Linked DNA regions of Homo sapiens: region 1 is linked to region 2. The links are contacts of gene promoters, found by promoter capture Hi-C in blood cells and fetal thymus (Javierre and others, 2016). All regions are on one chromosome and are shown on one strand. The core of a region is centred on a gene start or on the middle of the fragment in contact, and the rest is flanking DNA. Distances in the headings are between cores, read along the strand shown.

Evidence for each region. The method cuts DNA at HindIII sites, captures the fragments that hold promoters and counts their contacts. A CHiCAGO score of 5 or more calls a contact.
Region 1: a fragment that was not itself captured here is called in contact with the fragment with the promoter of CDH8 in region 2 in 3 of 17 cell types (M2 macrophages, M0 macrophages and M1 macrophages); the score reaches 11.9 in M2 macrophages.

What each region holds. Positions count from the first base shown.
Region 1 is chr16:58,819,968-58,823,597 of GRCh38, reverse strand. The region is part of intron 2 of LOC107984867 (a long non-coding RNA gene); the gene reads right to left. Among named protein-coding and RNA genes, the nearest start is that of GOT2, 87 kb to the right of the region's middle. The HindIII fragment of the contact is 4,096 bases long and covers 1-3,407 here.
Region 2 is chr16:62,035,126-62,038,949 of GRCh38, reverse strand. It overlaps CDH8 (cadherin 8), which reads left to right and starts at 2,512. Exons shown (of 12, transcript NM_001796.5): 1 at 2,512-2,870. LOC124903777 (a long non-coding RNA gene) reads right to left here and starts at 2,360. Exons shown (of 2, transcript XR_007065217.1): 1 at 2,173-2,360; 2 at 1,517-1,737. The HindIII fragment of the contact is 7,783 bases long and covers 1-3,824 here.

The DNA.
Region 1 (3,630 bases), core at 110-2,609, 3.2 Mb after region 2:
ATGTCTAAAACACCAAAAGCAATGGCAACAAAAGACAAAATTGACAAATGGGATCTAATTAAACTAAAGAGCTTCTGCACAGCAAAAGAAGCTATCATCAGAGTGAACAGGCAACCTACAGAATGGGAGAAAATTTCTGCAATCTATCCATCTGACAAAGGGCTAATATCTAAAATCTACAAAGAACTTAAACAAATTTATAAGAAAAAAACAACCCTATCAAAAAGTGGGCAAAGGATATGAACAGACACTTCTCAAAAGAAGACATTTATGCAGCCAACAGATATATGAAAAAATGCTCATCATCACTGGTCATTAGAGATATGCAAATCAAAACCACAATGAGATACCATCTCATGCCAGTTAGAATGGCGATCATTTAAAAGTCAGGAAACAACAGATGTTGGAAAGGATATGGAGAAATAGGGACACTTTTACACTGTTGGTGGGAGTGTAAATTAGTTCAACCATTGTGGAAGACAGTGTGGCGATTCCTCAAGGATCTAGAACTAGAAATACCACTTGACTCAGCAATCCCATTACTGGGTATATACCCAAAAGATTATAAATCATTTTACTATAAACACACATGCACACGTATGTTTATTGTGGCACTATTCACAATAGCAAAGACTTGGAACCAACCCAAATGTCCATCAATGATAAACTGGATAAAGAAAATGTGGCACATATACACCATGGAATATTATGCAGCCATAAAAAAGGATGAGTTCATGTCCTTTGGAGGGACATGGATGAAGCTGGAAACCATCATTCTCAGCAAACTATCACAAGAACAGAAAACCAAATACCGCATGTTCTCACTCATAAGTGGGAGTTGAACAGTGAGAACACATGAACACAGGGAGGGGAACATCACATACCGGGGCCTTTTGGCAGGGTAGGAGGAGGGGGGAGAGATAACATTAGGAGGAATACCTACTGTTGATGACAGGTTGATGGTTGCAGTAAACCACCATGGCATGTGTATACCTATGTAACAAACCTGCACGTTCTGCACATGTACACCGGAACTTAAAATATTAAAAAAAAAGTTTTTAAAAAAAAGCTGGGCAAAGGACATAAACAGACATTTCTCAAAAGGAGACATACAAACAGCCAACAAACACATGAAGAAAATGTTCAACATAACTAATCTTCAAAGAAATGTAAATTAAAACTACAATGAGATATCATCTTACACCAATCAAAATGGATATTACTAAAAAGTCAAAAAATAACAGGTGTTGGCAAGGCTGTGGAGAAAAGGAAACACATACATTTTTGTTGAGAATATAAATTAGTTCAATCACTATGGAAAACAGTATGCAGAGTTCTCAAAGAGCTAAAAATAGAACTACCATTCAGCCTAGTAATCCCACTACTGAGTATCTACCCAAAGGAAAAAAGTCTTTGTATAAAAAAAGACACCTGTACTCATATGTTCATCACAGCACTATTTACAATAGTAAACTCATGGAACCAACCTAATTGTCCATCAACAGTTGACCAGAAAATGTGGTATACATACAAAATGGAATACTATGCAGCCACTAAAAAGAATGAAATAGTGTCTTTTGCAGCAGCTTGGATGGAACTGAAGGCCATTATGCTAAGTGAACTAACTCAGAAACAGAAAACCAAATACCAAATGTTCTCACTTATAAGTGGGAGCTAAACAATAGGTATTCATGGTCATAAAGATGGAAACCATAGACACTAGGGAGTCCAAAGAGGGGGAGAGCGTGTGAGGGGGAGTTGAAAATTACCTATCCAGTACAATGTTCATTATCGGGGTATTGGGTACACTAGAAGCCAAATCCCTACTCGTATGCAATATACCCATGTAACAAACAAGCACATGTACCCCCAAATCTAAAATAAGATATATTTGAAAAAAAAATTTTTTTAAGGTTGTTAGGCCATGAGGGCTCCTCCCTCTTGAATGGGATTAAGGCTCTCATAAAAGAGTCCATGCAGAACTCAGTTAGCTTGCCCTTTCACCTTCCTCCATATAAGGACATAGTGTTCTTTCCCTCCAGAGGATGCAGCCCTCACCAATGCCTGGATTTTGGACTTCTCAGCCTCTAGGATTGTGAGAAATAAATTTCTATTTTCTTATAAATTACCCAGTCTATGGTGTTCTCTTATAGCAGCACAAAAGCAGACTAAGACAGTATTTGTAAACTGAGCCCATTCATCCCAAGCCTGACACTGTACTTACAGATATATATCTCATTTGTGGTTGCAGACTACAGCAGTCACACTCTCTTGATCTACGTGTGATTCAGTAGCAGCTGAGTGGACAGTTTTATGTGAACTCAGGCTAACATCACAGGCAGCATCTTGCCTCAAGATGCACTGTGTTCTCTGTCTGCCCTGGAAGTTCTCTAGTCCTTAAGTTGCCACTTAGCCTACATAAAACTGCAGGTAAGTTCGTGCTTTCCAACCCTCAAGACAACCTCAAACAATGGGGGATGAGGTATGTGGATGAATTCTCCAGCATCCCTCCCCTCGGATAAGAGAGGCATTCTGCAACCTTCTCAGACGTTCCCAGCAGAATTGAATCCCCATCACCCCACAGCACTGACCTTGATAATGCTTGCACTGATTTTTCTCATTCCCTGTCTGTCTCTTCCCACTCCCTTATTCCTGCTTCCCTAGTAAACTACCCACTCAAGTTCATGTCTAAGCCTCTCTTGGGAGAATTCAGACTACATGGCCCCCAACAAAGGCACACCAGACTCAATTCCAAGAAACAACATATATTTTCAAGAGATGATGTCGTATGTTTTACTCATATTAATTCAGTTGAAATGCTGGCAAGGACAAACACGGGTTTGTAGATCCAGATGATGGTTCTGGAGAGGAATTTGAAGTCAAGAGCATAAACAAGAATAACTAGGCTTTTTACTTCTCTGTTTTTAATAAACTTTAATAGGCAGCATTTCCACTACTTGAAAAGTTGGCCCTTGCCTCTTGATTCAACACTCATAAAAAGTTGTGATTCTTGTCCTGGAAGACAGGACTGCTGTGTTCAAACTATAATAACAATGTGACTTCATAACCCTCCTGGGTTTAAACTTGAGAACTCCCTGGGAAAACAGTCCACCTCCTTGCAAACACTATGAAGCCTAATACTACCAATTTGCTGATTCATCCAGTATCCAGAACTAGAATGACATAGTCACAGATATTCTGGATTTTGTTTTATTTGATTTTATTTTTAACCCATTTATGGCTTTGGTTTTTTCACAACCAATAGAAAATAAAATGCACTCATTTCTTCACTCTGCAACAGGAGCTAAGAAACCAGAACACCGTGAAGATTTTTCTTGGCGTACCAGGTTTCCTGAAGATGTGTTGCCCTCTTTTTATTCATGTTATAGCAAGAGGGGAAGTAAGCTTTTGATGGGATAGGAAGCACACATCTAGAAACAGAAATCTAATTCATTTTCCAAGGCTTCATTCACTGCCCTCACTATAAAAACCTTCCTGGAGCTCCGTGTTGACAATCCCAGCACTCTTTTCTCACTTTTATAGCCAACTCTTTCACTGTCTCAACAAAAGGGCAAGGCCATAGCTGGTGGAAGGGAGATTTGCTTCCACCGCTTCCTGAGAAACCCCAGT
Region 2 (3,824 bases), core at 1,263-3,762:
AAACTGCCTGCCTGTCACCGAGACCCAGGCTAGAGACATCCTGCCTCATTCTACTTTTTGCATTAGTCAGCCAAGGTTATTCTGAATGCAATCTTCTCTCCCTCCCCCCAACTCCTTCTCCAATTATACTCCTGCCCTATCAGATAATTCCTCACCCTTCCTCCCCCGCAATGCTCCACAACACATGCAATTTCACTTGCCATTCTAAAAAGCCTATGTACCACAGTCCTCTTCCCGCTGGAAGGCTGTAACCCTGGAGAGGATGTTGAAAAGAAAACACTTTCTTAAGGGGGTAGGCTTTCACCATTGTGACATTACACTGCATCTTATTAAGAGTGGGTGGAATTGTTAAAGAGATAAATGCCTTGTCTTTCAGCATCCCTGATTATTTTAGAAATATCCTTATAGGGCTTTCTAACATTATCCTAATCCTCTATCACACTGCTTAATCATCCAAACCTCTCTTAAGAATTAGTCAGGAAATTCCTATTGTAACGCTTTGAGCAGATATTAGCAGGTATAGACAGGTTACCCTGAATTCCAGAGGACCAAAATTCAGGGAAGACAATGTATATAACTGCTGTAAGAGTAAATATGGACAAGATGAGTCAAAGCAAACTCTTCTTAACCCTAGATACCCAAAGCCATTGGATTCTGGCTCTCTTTAAAAGCCATTGGATTCTGACTATCTTTACTATGTCAGCATAGTTTGTTAAGAAAATGAGATTTGAGGATATTGTCTAACAATCTGGCTTTTTTTTTTTTTTTTGAGACAAGTTTGTTACTTGTGACAATCCCCAGCTTTCAGTAGCACATGAGTTTTTTTGAGTTTTCATAGATGTAAGAAGTTACCCCAAGGAACGGTTCAAATTATTTGTTCAAGTGAAAATGAATATCTGAAATTAAGCACAACCCAAAATGTGATCTATTTCTTTGTCCACTTGGGACTGTCTGGTCTAGCAGCAGTTATAATTTGATTGAGCCTTGACTGCTGCTCCTTTTTCCAAGACAGAATTAGCCAATTCCAATACCCTGTAAGCAGACACAGTCTGAGAAGAGAACAAACAGTTACTTAGTGACTGCCTGGGGGAAAAAAAATACCACTTGGTTCTCTTCACCTCTCCCTCTCTGAAATAATCCACTAAGTTTCTTGCCTATGACAGCTAGAACATGAAACAATCAGATATTAGAGCTACAGCCAATACTCTTTTTCACATTTCACAATGGGTTGTCAGATGCAGCACACAAAAAAATGTCAAATTTGCATAAATATCATAAGCATGTTGTGCCTATTTTCTCATTCTGTTCACTCTTTCTCATTAATTTGAGTGAGACAGTACAAGCTCTACAGACTGTGCGTCTTGTCCCCTGCACCTTTTTCCCCCTTCTGTTCTTGCTCTGTCCCCAGATGGTAAAATCCACCCTCAGGCTCACGTCTAGTGCACACAGGGAAGGGACTAAATCGGGATCTCCTGTGGAGGGGAGGGTTTTTTTTTTTAAGGTAAGAATTTATTTGTCTTATATTTATCTAATTTTATTAGAAGATGATGACTGTGGCATCGTCTACATGTTAGCCCCAGTGTTGAAAAAGAAAAGAAATCTGGACCTCCTGATTCATGGTCCCTTTTACCCCAGGGTGGCCATTTCTCAAGATCTGAGCGCAGCCCATCAGAAGACTTGAAGTGACCACAGACAGGGCAGGTCTTGGTGGAGGCAGGAGAACCGCAAGGATGGTATCTGAGAGGATATGACAAGATCAGGGCACATTGAGAAGACCTAGAAATTCCTCCCCTATTTCCCAAGCAAGTTCTGCTTTGCCTGCCCTCCTCCCCACAACCAACTACTGCGCGCCCCTCCTGGCTGCCACTCTGCTGTCCCTCATCCCATTTTCCCAAAGGAGCACGGGGACATCAGGAATGCGCTCCATCACAGAACCGCGACACACAGCCTCTACATAGCGTCTGAGTTGCAGGCAGGGGTCTCACAATCACCCTATTCTGTACGCAAGAGGCCCTTGGAATAAAGAGGAGGTAAGCTGCCCACGCTCAACCCTTTGCCCTGTCGCGTCCTCTTCCTCCTACGGAAAATAGCTGCGGGTCACTGAGACGCTTTTCAACATAACGCCAGCCCCAGAGCTCAGGTGAGACCTCTAGAGAGAAAGCTCGCAGGTACCTCATCCGCATGCTGTTATTATCTGCCAGCCCACTTATCCAGGAGCTCGGTCCTCAGCGGGCTGCGCGCACCGCGCGGAAGGGCGCATCTTCACCTCGTGGCTCTGGCGGCAGAGACGCGCGGGGCTTGCTCGGGAGCGAGGAGCGAAAAGTTGTGCGCCCACTTGGGTAGGGGGAAAGAGAGCGATCGAGCCAGCGCGGGAGAGCGAAGGGGGAAGGCGGGGAGGGGGCGGGGAGGGGGGACTGCTTACATGAATTTCCAAGTGGTAGACCTGCCTCTGCGCTCTGCCCAATGAGATCCGTCAGGGGAGGCACCCGGCTCACTTTTCCACATCACTTCACAGTTACATTTGGCAGGCAGGCGGGCTCGCACGCCGGAGCGCTCAGCCCAGAATTAGTGGATTTATTTGGAATCTCCCTGCCTCCTCCAAGCTCCGCCGCCGCCGCCGGCTTGTGCATAGACGGTAGCGTCAAGACACCAGCTGCACTTTGGGTTGCGGACACCCAGAGCCCAGCGCGCCCGCCCTGCGTCTCCGCACCAAGCCCTGTAGCTCCGAGAGGCATGAACGGAATCCGGAGGCGCCTGCCTAGCGAGCGAGGACCGGTCGGCGCTTGCCGCCCTCGGGAGCTAACCCCGAGCACCTCCAGCCATTTGTGAACCTGGAGGCTTGACATTCGCCAGCGCAGGGCCCCACAAGAGTAAGTGTTCCCCTAACCCACCCCCGTTTTCCTCTATGTTCCGACTATCCAGAAGGGACCGTTTCTTATAGGAATTCCCATGCCCCTTCGGACACCTTGCGCGCCTCCTGCCCCTCAGATGGTGGATGAGGGTTCTTAGCATAGGCTCTGGGCTAAGCTGTGTCTTTCGCGATATCCGTGGGTGATAACGTACGTACGCCTCAAGGTTTTGCCTGACTGTTTTTGCAAACTGCTTTGACAACAGATCCTAGAGAGTAGCAAGCTCCAGGCTGTGCCCCTCCAGTTTTCCTGCCGGTTTCCTTCCCTGCGGCGACTTGGCTATTTCGCCGCTTCCCAACGCAGGCAGGCGCGGCTGCAGCCGCGCGCCTTCACTGCGGGGTCCGTGCGGTGAATGGGAAGCACCTGCAGCCCGCTGTGCGGAGGGTGCAAGCCAGGGAAAAAAGGAGGCGAGGGGGCCCGAGTGGTCTATGGCTGGTTTTCTGCACCGCCTCATCTCCGAGGCGAGGGAGGGCGACCCCCGCGGCAGGGCTGCGGGCCAAGGCTCAGCTGCGAAAGCCCCAGCGCGAGGCTTTCCCACAAGTGGCAGCTCCAGCTCTGGGAGGTGCGGTGCCCGCTACAAACTTGCCGGGCTCCGGAGTCGCCCTGCGGCTCTGCCCTCGCCAAGACGCTGCCCAGCACCCCTGCAGGACCCCCAGGCAGTGTCTCCCCGCAACTCGAGATTGCGTGCACGGAGGCCCCCTTAAGCCGGGGACTCCGTAGCCGCTCTCCTAGGGACAGCTGAGCCCAGACCTGCGCTTTCTGTGGTCTGGCCGCTTCTCATCCGGGAACCTTTGAGGGGCTGGTCGCGCCCCTCGCAGGATCGGAGGGAAAAAGGCTCTTGCCTAGGTTCTGCCAGTACGTAAGAGGTTCATAAGGGACCTACTCCGGTTCTCCCAGGATCCAGCCAAGGCTGGG